Regions from separate parts of the Homo sapiens genome. Here regions 2 and 3 are each linked to region 1. Evidence: promoter capture Hi-C in 16 types of primary human blood cells and fetal thymus (Javierre and others, 2016). All regions are on one chromosome and are shown on one strand. Each heading gives the region's core, a stretch centred on a gene start or on the middle of the fragment in contact. The rest is flanking DNA. Distances are from core to core; before and after follow the strand shown.

Region 1 (4,017 bases), core at 501-3,000:
ACTAATTGCTGGGTCCTCCGAACGCCCGGCTTTTACGCCCCGCCCAAGTCCGGAAGATGGGCGGGCCCAGGAACTTGTGCGCGTGCGCATGCGCATTACAGCGCGCAGGGCGAAGCCGATTAGTCTAGCGGCCTCCGGCCGTTGGGAAGCGGGCATCGGGCCAGAAGGCAGAAGGCTGAGAAGCCCCGCCCGTAAGCAGAGGCAATCTGGAGCTATGCAGCTCAGTGGGTGAGAGGGAGGGAGCTGGGATTCAGACTTCAGACCTAATGAATGCCCCGAAGCAGACGCCAGCAACGTGAAGCCTAGCTGGCAGCCTCCCAGGTCTGGCGCGCAGCCAGCGCCAGACTTTAAATCGCAATACTAGAAACCAGGGCCTGTTAACCAACCGGGAGGGAGGCGCACGGTGTGGCTTCGGCCGTGATCCTTGTTGCAAAGGCCTGTCAGGCCCAGTATGAAGAAATAGTTTCAGTACAGGGAGTGTAGAAATAGCTGCAGAAGGCCTGAGGCCTGCAGCCCTAGAGTTAATAGCTACTTGGTGGAACCCTCGAATTCTTTCCACCTTGTTAATCCAACCCTGCACTGCATTCGCTGGAGGAAATATCACAGGCTGCATCCCCAAAGTATCACGTCTAGTTTTGACACCACTCCAAAGGGCAAAAATCCGAGAGGACCTCTAGGCAGGCAGTCAGCCCAGAGTCACCAAGCTGGAGCCGGGTCTCTCCTTACAAATCACTGCTATTTCTAGACAGCCTTGTAAGGTTTCTAGCCTGGCAGGGGGAAGGGAGTTCCTGCGGACACCTGCTAGCTTCACTGAACGGCCCCGGGATCCAATGCTACCTTTAATGTAGGGGCGGAGGTGGGAGGGCATGGGATGAGGGAAGGGTGCGTCTAGAGGCGAGAGACATGCAAAAACGAGTTCTACACCTCACCTCTGCCTCCTACTCACTGGGAACTTAGAGATCCCTGACTGTCTCCTAGCTTTCGGTCTCCCTATTTGTTAAAAGGAGGAGTTGGTACCGGCGGATCCTACTCAACTGACCGTCTGAGGTGCGGAAGGGCTGGGATGCTGCCTGCTTCATCTTTGCATGCGCCGTGCCTAGCGCAGCCCGAGATACACCAGTAGCTTCTTAATAAATGCGCAAAGGGCTCCCTATAATCTGCAGGCAGCAGCTGCCCTCACGGAGCCCACCTCTCGAGCGTCCCAAGAGAAAAATGCAAGCCGCGTGGTACTCAGCCGCTTTCCGTCTTTCAAGAACCCGCCCCGGACAAGCTGAGGCTTTTTTGGCTCTATGGGCTCCGAGAACTGGACCTCGAGTTTTGCACCGCCCGCCGATTTCGAGCCCAGAGGTATCCCCCACCCTTAAGGCCTATCATATCCTTGTTCCGCATCCACCCGGGCTTTCGACCCCTGCTTGGGTGCGGCCACCTCCTCGGTTCCCCAGCGTGGCCAGAAGCCATGGTTCCCGCTTAGAGCAAAAGCAGAGCGCGGCGAGCTCCGAACACATGCGTTGTGTGGGCCGCCGCCCAGACGTCTCTGGGCTGTGCTTCTGGAAAGCGGCTCCTACACCTCCCGGGAGCAGGAATCCCTTCGCGAGCAGCGGAGGCCAGCAGAACCAGAGGCAGTTGGCTCTACCCGCCCATCCCTCTGGCGCCGTGCGCGCAGGGCCCTACCGTACCGGGAATGCACGTCGGGCGGTCGTCGGGGGCGCGTGGCAATGAGATCCGGAATCGGCGGCAGCGGCTGCAGCACTCTGAGCTGGGCGCGGGAGGGGCCTTAAGTGGAACAGCTATGCTGACGTCAGCGGGGGGGGCCGGCGGACGTGCGGGAACCCACGTGTGAGTCGGGCTGGGGGTGGATGCCGAGCCAGGCGGGGCACTGGAGAGGCCCGGGTGGCGCGCGCAGCCAGACAACCGACCGGCAGACTGCTCCACGTGCGCTGGGAGTCTAAGTAAGGTGCTGCCCTCCAACCACAGAAGCCGGGGTCGGAGCCATGAGCCTGAGTCAGGACGACCTTCAGTTTCCTCATCCATGAAACCTGGGGAGGTTACTCTCAGGAAGGCTTGGATCTGTTTCTTCTTCATCCCTGTTTCTCAGTGTCCAGAACAGCTTCTGGCACGTAATAGGCACTCCACAAATATTTGTTGAACGAAAGGAAGAAAATGCCTAGCAGTCAGTCAGTCTGTTCTTACCTAAGTCGAGTGACCTCCAAAACTCGACGCTGCTTTTCCCTCTGCTGCTAAGCCTACCAGCTCCCACTCACAGTGAAGCCTTGGCCTCTCAGGCCTTGCAGGGTGACTCAGTTCAAATGTACATTTTATTCTGCACTTTCTACTGCCCACCCCACTGGCATCTCATCTCGAGTCTCAACCATACCCAAGAACTGTCAGTGGCTTGTTTTTTTGGTTTTGGTTTTTTGTTTGTTTATTTGTTTTTTGGTATTTTTCGAGACAGGGTCTCACTCTGTCACCCAGGCTGGAGGGCAGTGGCGTGATCATGGCTTCCTGCAGCCTCGACCTTCTGGCTCAAGCGATCCTCCCACCTCGGCTCCCCGAAGTGACTGGGACTACAAGCGCGCCCACTTGCCCTGCGATTTTTTTTTTAATTATTAATTTTTTTTTTTTTGAAACGGAGTCGCTCTGTCGCCCAGGCTGGAGTGCAGTGGGCTGATCTCGGCTCACTGCAACCTCCGCCTCCCGGGTTCAAGCGAATCTCCTGCCTCAGCCTCCTGAGAAGATGGGATTACAGCCAGGCGCCACCACGCCCGGCTAATTTTTGTAATTTTTAGTAGAGACGGGGTTTCACCATGTTGGTCAGGCTGATCTCAAACTCCTGGCCTCAAGTGATCTGGCCGCCTCGGCCTCACAAAGAGCTGGGATTACAGGCGTGAGCCACCGTGCCCAGCTCAATTTTTTGTTTTCTTATCATACTTACCTCTGGGCCTGTATTCTTGCTGATTCCATTGCCTAGCCCGCCCTCCTCCATCTCTTCTTTAATTTGTACCAATACTTCCCCACTGTGGGGTATATTATGAAATATATTTGGTAAGCCCTTGAGTATGCCAAAATTTCCTGAATTTTCTGATAGGAATGTCTTTTGTTATTTATAAAGAGCCTTTTTCCCTGACTTAATGTTAATGAATGAGGAGTCTTAGATAGCCTCAGGAAGGAGCCAGTCATGGGAAAGACCAAATGATTAGGGAATTAGAGGGCTGGAACTTTCAGCCCAAAGGGGTGGATGGCTTTACTTACTCCCTGAACCTACAGCAGCAGCCCAGTGCAGCTTTGAGATAGATCCATAACTGAGTTTCTTGGTTTTGACGGAAAACTCTAACCTCAGCTCCAAAATAGCACAAGGGGCCAGGTGCAGTGACTCATGCCTGTAATCCCAGCACCAATGTGGTTGAGGTGGGAGGACTGCTTGAGGCCAGGAGTTCGAGACTAGCCTGGGCAGCATAGTGAGACCCTGTCTCAAAAAAAAAAAAAAAATAGCAGGGCATGCTTGCATGTTCTAACAGTTTTCCCATCACTCTAGATTCTAAGATCACTCTAGGTTCTGAAATGGGGCTCTCACCTCAAACACACAGCTGGAAAGTTTAGGGGTGGGCCACTGATTCTTCAGAGTACCTCAGGGCAGGGCAGATTGCCACAGTGTTTTCCGGTTTCTCAGTCTTTGCAACAGTGTTCTCAGTCAGGGCTGGGCCCCTGCCTGCCTACCAAATGTGACCACTGCTGCTGGGAAGAGGTGTGCAGAAGGCAGAGAGCTGAAGTTGGCTGGGGAGACGAAGAATTTTCACCTGAAAGGCTTGGGTTGGGGCACTCTGAGATGACCTGTGAAGATAAACTAGGTAGAGTCTTCATTCCCCTAATTTATGATACCTAGCAACAGCTTGCTCCAAGCACAGCTTCAGGCTTCTTAGGCAGAACAACAGCCAGTATTTGACTCCACAAATATGAATAAAACAAATACCATTTACTGAGCACCTGCTATGGTGCTGGCAGCCAGCTAGGTAATCCCCA
Region 2 (4,017 bases), core at 840-3,339, 2.0 Mb before region 1:
GTCCTCTCACTTTATTGATATTAAAACAGATTCAGAGAGGGTAAGTCATACGTTAGTACAATCATAAAAGAATATCCTCTATTTAGTCCAGAATTCATGTTGCATGCTAGCAGACACTAACGTTTTTTTGGTTTATAGGTAGTTCCAGTGGGTCAGAAAACCATAGACCCACTATATTACTCACTTCTTAAACCTCACAAAATTTTAAGACAGATTACATCTAGATGATGCTTTAAATCTAATTTGTTAAATAAAGCATGCATTTTCATGGCAGGCATCTCTGGAAACAAAATGCCTGAGGAGCTCAGCCCACAGGCACTTCCAAAGGCCTGTGAACTACCACACGGTCATGCACGCCTCCTTCTTGGCCTGTGTGTACCACTCAATTGGCACTTAACCTGTCTCATCACAGACATTTAAGTAGCTATTTTTAAATATCTTTTTCTTTTTAAAAATTTTTTAATTTTAATTATTTATTTATTTATGTATTTTTTGTGTGTGATAGAGTCTCACCATGTCACCTAGGCTGAAGTGCAAGGGCATGATCTTGGCTCACTGCAACTTCCACCTCCCAGGTTCAAGCAATTCTCCTGCCTCGGCCTCCCAAGTAGCTGGGATTACAGGCATCCGCCATTATGCCTGGCTAATTTTTGTATTTTTAGTAGTGACGGGGTTGTCACCATGTTGACCAGGCTGGTCTCGAACTCCTGACCTCAAGTGATCCACCCGCCTCAGCCTCCCAAAGTGCTGGGATTACAGGCGAGAGCCACCGCGCTTGGCCATTCTTTTTTTTTTAATAGGTGGTTTTTAGTATATACACAGAACTCTGTAACCTTCATCACGATCTAAGTTTTAAAATATTTCATCACCCTGAAAAGAAATCCCATATCATTAGCAGTCACTCCTCGTACCCTACCCTCTGGGGACCTAGTCAACCACTAATGTACCTTCTATCTCTATAGATTTGCCTATTCTGGACATTTCATATAAATGAAATCATATAATTCGTGGTCTTTTGTGACTGTCTCCTCACACTTAGCATAATATTTTCAAGGTTCACCCATGTTGTAGTATGTATCATTTCTTTTTATAGCTGAATAATATTCTATTGCATGAATATATCACATTTTATTCATCTATTCATCAGTCGATGGCTATCTAGGTTGTTCCCACTCTTTGGCCATTATAAATAATGCTGCTATGAACAGTCATACACAAGATTTTATGTGTACACACATTTCTTAGCTTTTTTTTTTTTTTTTTTTTGAGATGGAGTCTCACTCTGTCGCCCAGGCTGGAGTGCAGTGGCGCAATCTCAGCTCACTGCAAGCTCCGCCTCCCGGGTTCATGCCGTTCTCCTGCCTCAGCCTCCCGAGCAGCTGGGACTACAGGCACCTGCCATCACGCCCGGCTAATTTTTTGTATTTTTAGTAGAGACGGGGTTTCACCGTGTTAGCCAGGATGGTCTCAATCTCCTGACCTCGTGATCCGCCCGCCTCGGCCTCCCAAAGCGCTGGGATTACAGGCGTGAGCCACCGCGCCCAGCCCATTTCTTAGCTTTTTAAAAGATTTGTTTTGTCTCTATTAGCAGTGTGCATAAAAGAGATACCATAGCAGGCTGAGACTGCTATCCTTAGAAAGGCCTGTTACAAGTTTGGCCCCTGGCTTGTGCTTGCAACCTTGGATTTTCGGTGTGTTCCCACCATTCCCTATCTGATAAGGGTCATGTACTATGCCTAAACTGTCTGTACAAACAATGTGGTTTATGCTGAAAACTTGCCTTTCTTCTGGAGGGCTGCAATTTGGCTAGGCCAATGTGCCTATGTAACTGGCTCCCATAAAAACCCTGCATTCCTAGGCTCAGATGAGTTTCTCTGGCAGAAAACGTTCATCGCTGGAGACATTAAGCACATCCTGTGCAAGCTCTATGGGGAGAGGCCTCTTGGAAGCTTGTACCTACTTTCCTCCAGACTTCACCCGACACACCTTTTCCCTTTGCTGATTTTGCTCTATATCCTTTCAATGCGATAAGTTGTAGCTGTGAGTATGACTATATGCTGAGTCCTATGAAACCTTCTAGTGAATTACCAAACTTGGGGGTGTCTTTGAGGATCCCTCAATACAAGCAGATTATAAACTCCTTGAGGTCAAGGATGATACCCAATAATAAAATGTCACATGTCTGGAAAGTATACCTTCACCCTGAATAGATGAGGAAACCAAAGCTTATAAACCCTGAGAACAGAGGACATGAGGCCCATCCAGTACTCTGGGCTCCACATCCTGACACGTCTCCCCACGGCACCAGCAGAATGCCCATAAAGCACATGATTGATCCAAGCCCCCAGAGCTGGCCCACCATGAATGAATGCAATTGAAACTTCATTGAGTAGAATAAATGTTCCTAAACAATAAAGGAGTTTCTAAAATTGGGTGGGGCGGGGGAGTTCATACACACATGGAGGCTGAGAAAATAGGCAATAAATACTAGGAATGTTACACACAGTAGTTGAAGGATTATTTTGGAAAGATAATCTTTCCAAATTGTAAAAGCAATTATATATTGTTCAGCGTCATTCTGGGTTGGATCATTTGGTTGTCATTTCTGTCCTTTATTAATCTAATTCATAATCCCAGGCTGCAGGTAATGCAGGCCAATTGCAGTGAAATCAGAAGTGTCTTTCCGTTGTATTGGCCTTAATATTTGCTGAGGCTCTGTCACGGTCCAATCTCTGCTGGGTCCCTTTTGCATGTATTAGTGACAAAGGCTATTCATTACTTAATAGCTAGTGGCATAGGCCTTGGAATCAGCCTGGGTTCAAGCTCTAGCTTTGCCGCTTAACAGCTGGTGTTTTTGTTGTTGTTGTTGTTGTTGTTGTTTGTTTTGTTTTGTTTTGTTTTTGAGACAGAGTCTCACTCTGTCCCCAAGCTGGAGTGCAGTGATGTGATCTTGGCTCACTGCAGCCTCTGCTTCCCGGGTTCATGCAATTCTCCTGCCTCAGCCTCCCGAGTAGCTGGGATTACAGGCATACACCACTGTGCCAGTTAATTTTTGTATTTTTAGTACAGACAGGGTTTTGCCACGTTTCCCAGGCTGGTTTCAAACTCCCAGCCTCAAGTGATCTTCCCACCTCGGCCTCCCAAAGTGCTAGAATTACAGGCGTGAGCCACCGTGCCCAGCCAACAGCTGGTGGTCTTAATATCACAGTACCTGTTTCCACGCAAATGCACATAAAAGCCCTCAGAATACTGCCTGGCTCATTTAGTGTTAGCTATTTTTTTAAAAATCTGGTTAAATCATTATTATAACCCAGTGAGTCAGTAGTAACGCCTTTATCTTTAACAATGAGGAAATATCTTATGTATATTTTCTTTCCTAAAAGGTATAAATGTTGATCTTGCTAATGAGAGCAAAAATCCTATTTGATAACCTTTCTCAGAACCCACATGTGTCAGTGTTTTAAAAAACAAGTTGGGCCTGATCCCTCATGCCTGTAGTCCCAGCTGCTCAGGAGGTTGAGGCTGGAGATTGTTTGAGCCCAGGAATCTGAGGTTGTAGTGAGCTGTGACCGCACCACTGCACTTCAACCTGGGTGACAGAGCAAGACTTTGACTCTAAAAAAAAAGGAAAACAGATTTTTTCCTTTTAAGAATTGTTCTAAACTCTGACAATTAAGTGGAAACTTTTCCATTCTTCATGTAATTTCATTGGTGGCTCACTGATCTTCATCTGGTTCAAAATACTATTTTAGGATAGGTGAGATATGGCTCAGCTATAAGCCATGTGAAAAAAATCTGGAAATTTTTAATATTACAGGCTGATCATGAGCCAACAACATAATAAGGATGTTTGGTAAAATAGTAACAATCTTATATCCTATTTTTTTAAAAAAACATAGTGTTCGGAGCATGAATAGTACTCCCAGTGCAGTTCCAGTATAATATCACTGCAAAGTTCACCCTTAGCAAAGTGATGCAGTCATGAAGGAGCTAGACACAGGAACCCATAAAGAATGG
Region 3 (4,017 bases), core at 757-3,256, 1.7 Mb after region 1:
ATTCTATTTTGGGGAAGCTTTCTTGCACTGCTAAACCAGAGTTAGCTGCCCTCTGTGATTCCACAGCACTATGTGCATGGCTTTCTCACAGCAATTACAATTCTGTATTGCTATTATCTGGTTTCCTCCATTACATAATAGCTTCAAACATGTATTATTGATCTATATGACCACCCAGGATCCAGCACAGTAGTAGGTAGTCTGTAATTGTTGGGAAAATGAATGAATGTATTCCCATGTGCATAACAAAACAAAGAGCAGAATTTCATTTTAATGTGCTTAAAAAAAGAGAAAAAAAGCTTTCCTATTTCTTTTCAATTTAGTTTGTAGGAAGTCTGTTAGGACAATGTTAGGAAAATAAATTTACTTGCTTACAAAAACTAAGTATCTAGAGATCCCTGTATAAACTGCTAGGATAAAGAAAGGTTTTTACAATAGATATTTTCCTGGCACTTGTTTTATATAGTTGACCCTGAACACAGGATTAAACTGTGTGGATCCACTTATACTTGAATATACTTCTGCCTCTGCCACTCCCAGACAGTAAGACAATCCCTCCTTTTCAGCCCACTCAACATGAAAACTATGAAGATGAAGACCTTTATGATAATCCACTTCCAATTAATGAAGAGTCAATTATTTTCTCTTCCTTATAATTTTCTTGATAACATTTCCTTTTCTTTATTGTAAGAATACAGGATATAATACATTTAACACCCAAAATATGTGTTAACTGATAATTATGTTATCAGTAAGACTTCCAGTCAACAGTAGGCTATTAGTAGTTAAGTTGTTGGGGAGTCAAAAGTTATATGCAAACTTCTGACTGCCTGCAGAACCAGCACCCCTAACCCCCACATTGCTCAAGGGTCAACTGTACCTTCTATTAACGTTAACCAAACTGACAGGCATTTCAAAGTATCTTGAACATTTTTAAAATTAAGGTTTTCTTTCCCCCTGGTGTTCTACACATTCAGAGAAACTTCTCTATCTAGTAACAAACTATAGAAATAATCTCTGAAAGTGTAGTCTTAAAATTAAGTTTTTGATAAAGGATATTCCTCTGGTTACTACTTCAAGGGCTGGAGGGAGCTATAAAATATGACAGCCTTTTCACTTTGGCCAGAGGTTCCCACAAGATAACCTACCCAGAAGAAATATATTCTATCAAACCACTGGGCCAACATATGGCAAATCATAAACTTTGACATCTCTTTTCTCCTATACAGCCTCCTTGAACCAAATTTTTCTCTGTACAGTCTTCAAACTATACGGACAGAGAATCCTAGAAGTGGCTCAAAAATAATATAAATTTTATGTGCTTGGTTAGGCCACATGTATTTCCCAAAGCCAAAAGAAATCACACAGAACAGGAAAATGGAATCCAAGTATATTCAGTCCTTCTTACTTAGCATACATAAAAATGGCAATATTTTCACAGAAAAGGTAAAAATGCACACCATCTGATGCTTACCTTTCCTGCACCCATAAGTCTCAAGAACTTTTGTTTTCTCTCTTCATTACCCAAGTCTGCTGCCTCCCAATTGCTAGATCCCAGCTAGAAAAAAAATTGGTTGATTAAATTTTTTTTGCATAAAAATAAGTATTACGAAATCTAAAGTCTACCTGTAACTCTCAAGTTTTTTTCCCCTGTCAGTTGTAACTATAAACAGCGTTCATTTTTCTTGCTTAGGAAGTTAAGCATATTCATCACATTCAAATTTACTCCTTTTCTATTACCTCACAGCAGAATCCTTTAGTTCTCCTACAGCCAGAGCTGAGTCTCAAAAGTTTGCCTCTATCAGCGTCACCTAGAGGGCTTGTTAAAACAGACTGCAGGGCTACAGCCCCAGAGATTCAGCGGGTCTGGGGTGGAGCTCTAGGATTTGAATTTCAACAAATTCTTAAATGATTGCTGATGCTATTTATCTGGGGACCACACTTTGAGACCCACTGCCTCGCAGGGTAGGGTCCTAGAGCACCTAGTACTCTGAACTTAGATGGCAGCCACAGTTGTTAGTTGAAGTTAAAAATTCTGCCTTTATCAGTGAGCTAACTTTTAAGAGAGAAAATTTTAACTTTTCAGTTGCCTTTTTTTTTTTTTTTTTAGCAGTTCTAGTTACTTGTTAGGATTGAGATGTCATTACTTTTATTCTTTCTTAAAAGTCTTCCAAAGAACAAAGAGAAAACTTATTTTTTAAAAGAACAGACTAAAACTCATGCTATCTTGCAATTATCAAATGAGTCCACTGAACTCTTATAAATCTAAGAAATATGATGGAATCCTAGTGAGCGTATTTTTTCCCTACATTTTGAAACAAATGTAAAAACTGTTGTTTTTTAATAGTTTTTAATAGTTCATTATTTATAATTCATTATTTATAATTCATTATTCTCAACTATGCTAAAAATAACTAAATAGTTTTTAAGATATTAGTTTTCTCATTGTATTGTCCAAAGTATTTCATCATCATCTTTCAAGACATCATACCTGTTGTCTACTTTTAGCTTTCACTGAACACCGATGGGAATTCACAATTTTTCATTTTCCATTCATAATGGCAAAGAGAAAAAACTGACAGAAGGCATTAATCATTATTAGACGAAGAAGGTGAATGCAAAATGAAAGGCAGTCGTATTCTAGACTAATCATGATAAAATTAACTGCAAAAATCTCAGACTATGAGTTTTTGGATGAGGAAATATTAGAAGGCTTTTCTCCCACCCAAGAATTGACAAGAAAAAGAAAAAAAAGACAAACAAGAAATGTACTCTCACTGGGAGAGCCATCAGCAGGAAGGACTTCATCTTGCAATATTTCACAGTAAGAGCCAGGATCATCCCATTTTCTAAAAGGAGGTGTGAGTGTTTTATCTCATCTTTTACAATGTTTATGCATCAAAATTTACTTGATTTGGTTGCAAATGGACAAAGGGTGAAGGCAGATGTGTACACAAGGTGACTGGAAGGAAAATGAAATAAAAATATTCACCGAATTTATCATTCTAATTAAGTTTATAATCTAAAAATAAAAATGTTTTGCAATTATGGAGCAAGGATGACAATTACAAAATTGTAAGCAATAGGTTTCAAAAATTCCTCAAGTATTGTATTTTGATGATGCAAATCCGAGACAGGTTTGAACTTCAAGGGTCCCTTATAAGTGGATTTTTTTCAACCAAATGCAGATCCATCCCAAGTATATGGAAGGCTGATTTTTCCTATTCTCAGGTTCCACAGGGCTGGCTGCAGAACTTGAGTATGCAAGATTTGCCAAAGAGGTGGGTGGGTCCTGGAACCAATCCCCCACATTTAGCATACTGAAGGATGACTATATGTACATCAAAATCAGGAAAACAAAGAATATAAATTTCGGTTTGCTATTGTTAAATTCACATTAAAATTCCTAATAAAGTTGTTTTGCACTATCTCCCATTATTATTTCTAAAAATTATTTGTAAAAGACTAAAAGAATATTTAAAAAAACCACTATTTCCCCTGGGCATATGAGAGTTAAAGCATTTGTACCAACCTGGACCCATTTGCACTTCTAAATTCTCATTAGTGGAAGGGCTTATATGCTCTCATAATTTTGGTTCCCTAAGTTCCAAATCTCTACTTTTTTCCATGTGACCCCCCTCATATATTTTTATGGGCCATTTAGTTCTTAACTATTTCTGGCTCAATATAGTTAAAGTAATGGTGAAGCTTCAGTTCTGACAATCACTAAATCACTTGCTCTGTAAGCCAGGATCTGACATTTAACTTAATTTTAACTCCTTATCTATAAAGAGATGCCTTTTTAAAAGACTGTCTTAAGACACTGAGGCACAGAGAGGCTAAGTGACTTCCTTTGATCCTCTGACCATCCTGTGTTTTTTCCACATCATACTGTCCATGATCAAATGAGACAGATGAAAGTGGTCTATGAACTAGTTATAAAAATGTATAGAAGTTAAAAAATTGTGTAAAAACCAACTTTCTTGATTCTGCTTCTATTAAAAAACATTTTCAGTG

What was found. Contacts are between HindIII fragments. The CHiCAGO score rates a contact against its expected background, and 5 or more counts as called.
Region 2: a contact is called between a fragment that was not itself captured here and the fragment with the promoter of LDHA in region 1, in 1 of 17 cell types (neutrophils). The highest score is 6.5, in neutrophils.
Region 3: a fragment that was not itself captured here is called in contact with the fragment with the promoter of LDHA in region 1 in 1 of 17 cell types (monocytes); the score reaches 8.4 in monocytes.

The regions. Positions count from the first base shown.
Region 1 is chr11:18,392,296-18,396,312 of GRCh38, reverse strand. It overlaps LDHA (lactate dehydrogenase A), which reads right to left and starts at 1,750. Exons shown (of 8, transcript NM_005566.4): 1 at 1,677-1,750. RefSeq lists enhancers at 1-390, 1,655-1,744, 1,125-1,790, 2,055-2,144, 1,791-2,455 and a silencer at 845-894. The HindIII fragment of the contact is 13,104 bases long and covers 1-4,017 here.
Region 2 is chr11:20,377,921-20,381,937 of GRCh38, reverse strand. The region is part of intron 3 of HTATIP2 (HIV-1 Tat interactive protein 2); the gene reads right to left. Among named protein-coding and RNA genes, the nearest start is that of PRMT3, 7.8 kb to the left of the region's middle. The HindIII fragment of the contact is 276 bases long and covers 1,952-2,227 here.
Region 3 is chr11:16,742,142-16,746,158 of GRCh38, reverse strand. C11orf58 (chromosome 11 open reading frame 58) reads right to left here. Exons shown (of 5, transcript NM_014267.6): 2 at 1,475-1,558. Among named protein-coding and RNA genes, the nearest start is that of C11orf58, 5.5 kb to the right of the region's middle. The HindIII fragment of the contact is 3,409 bases long and covers 302-3,710 here.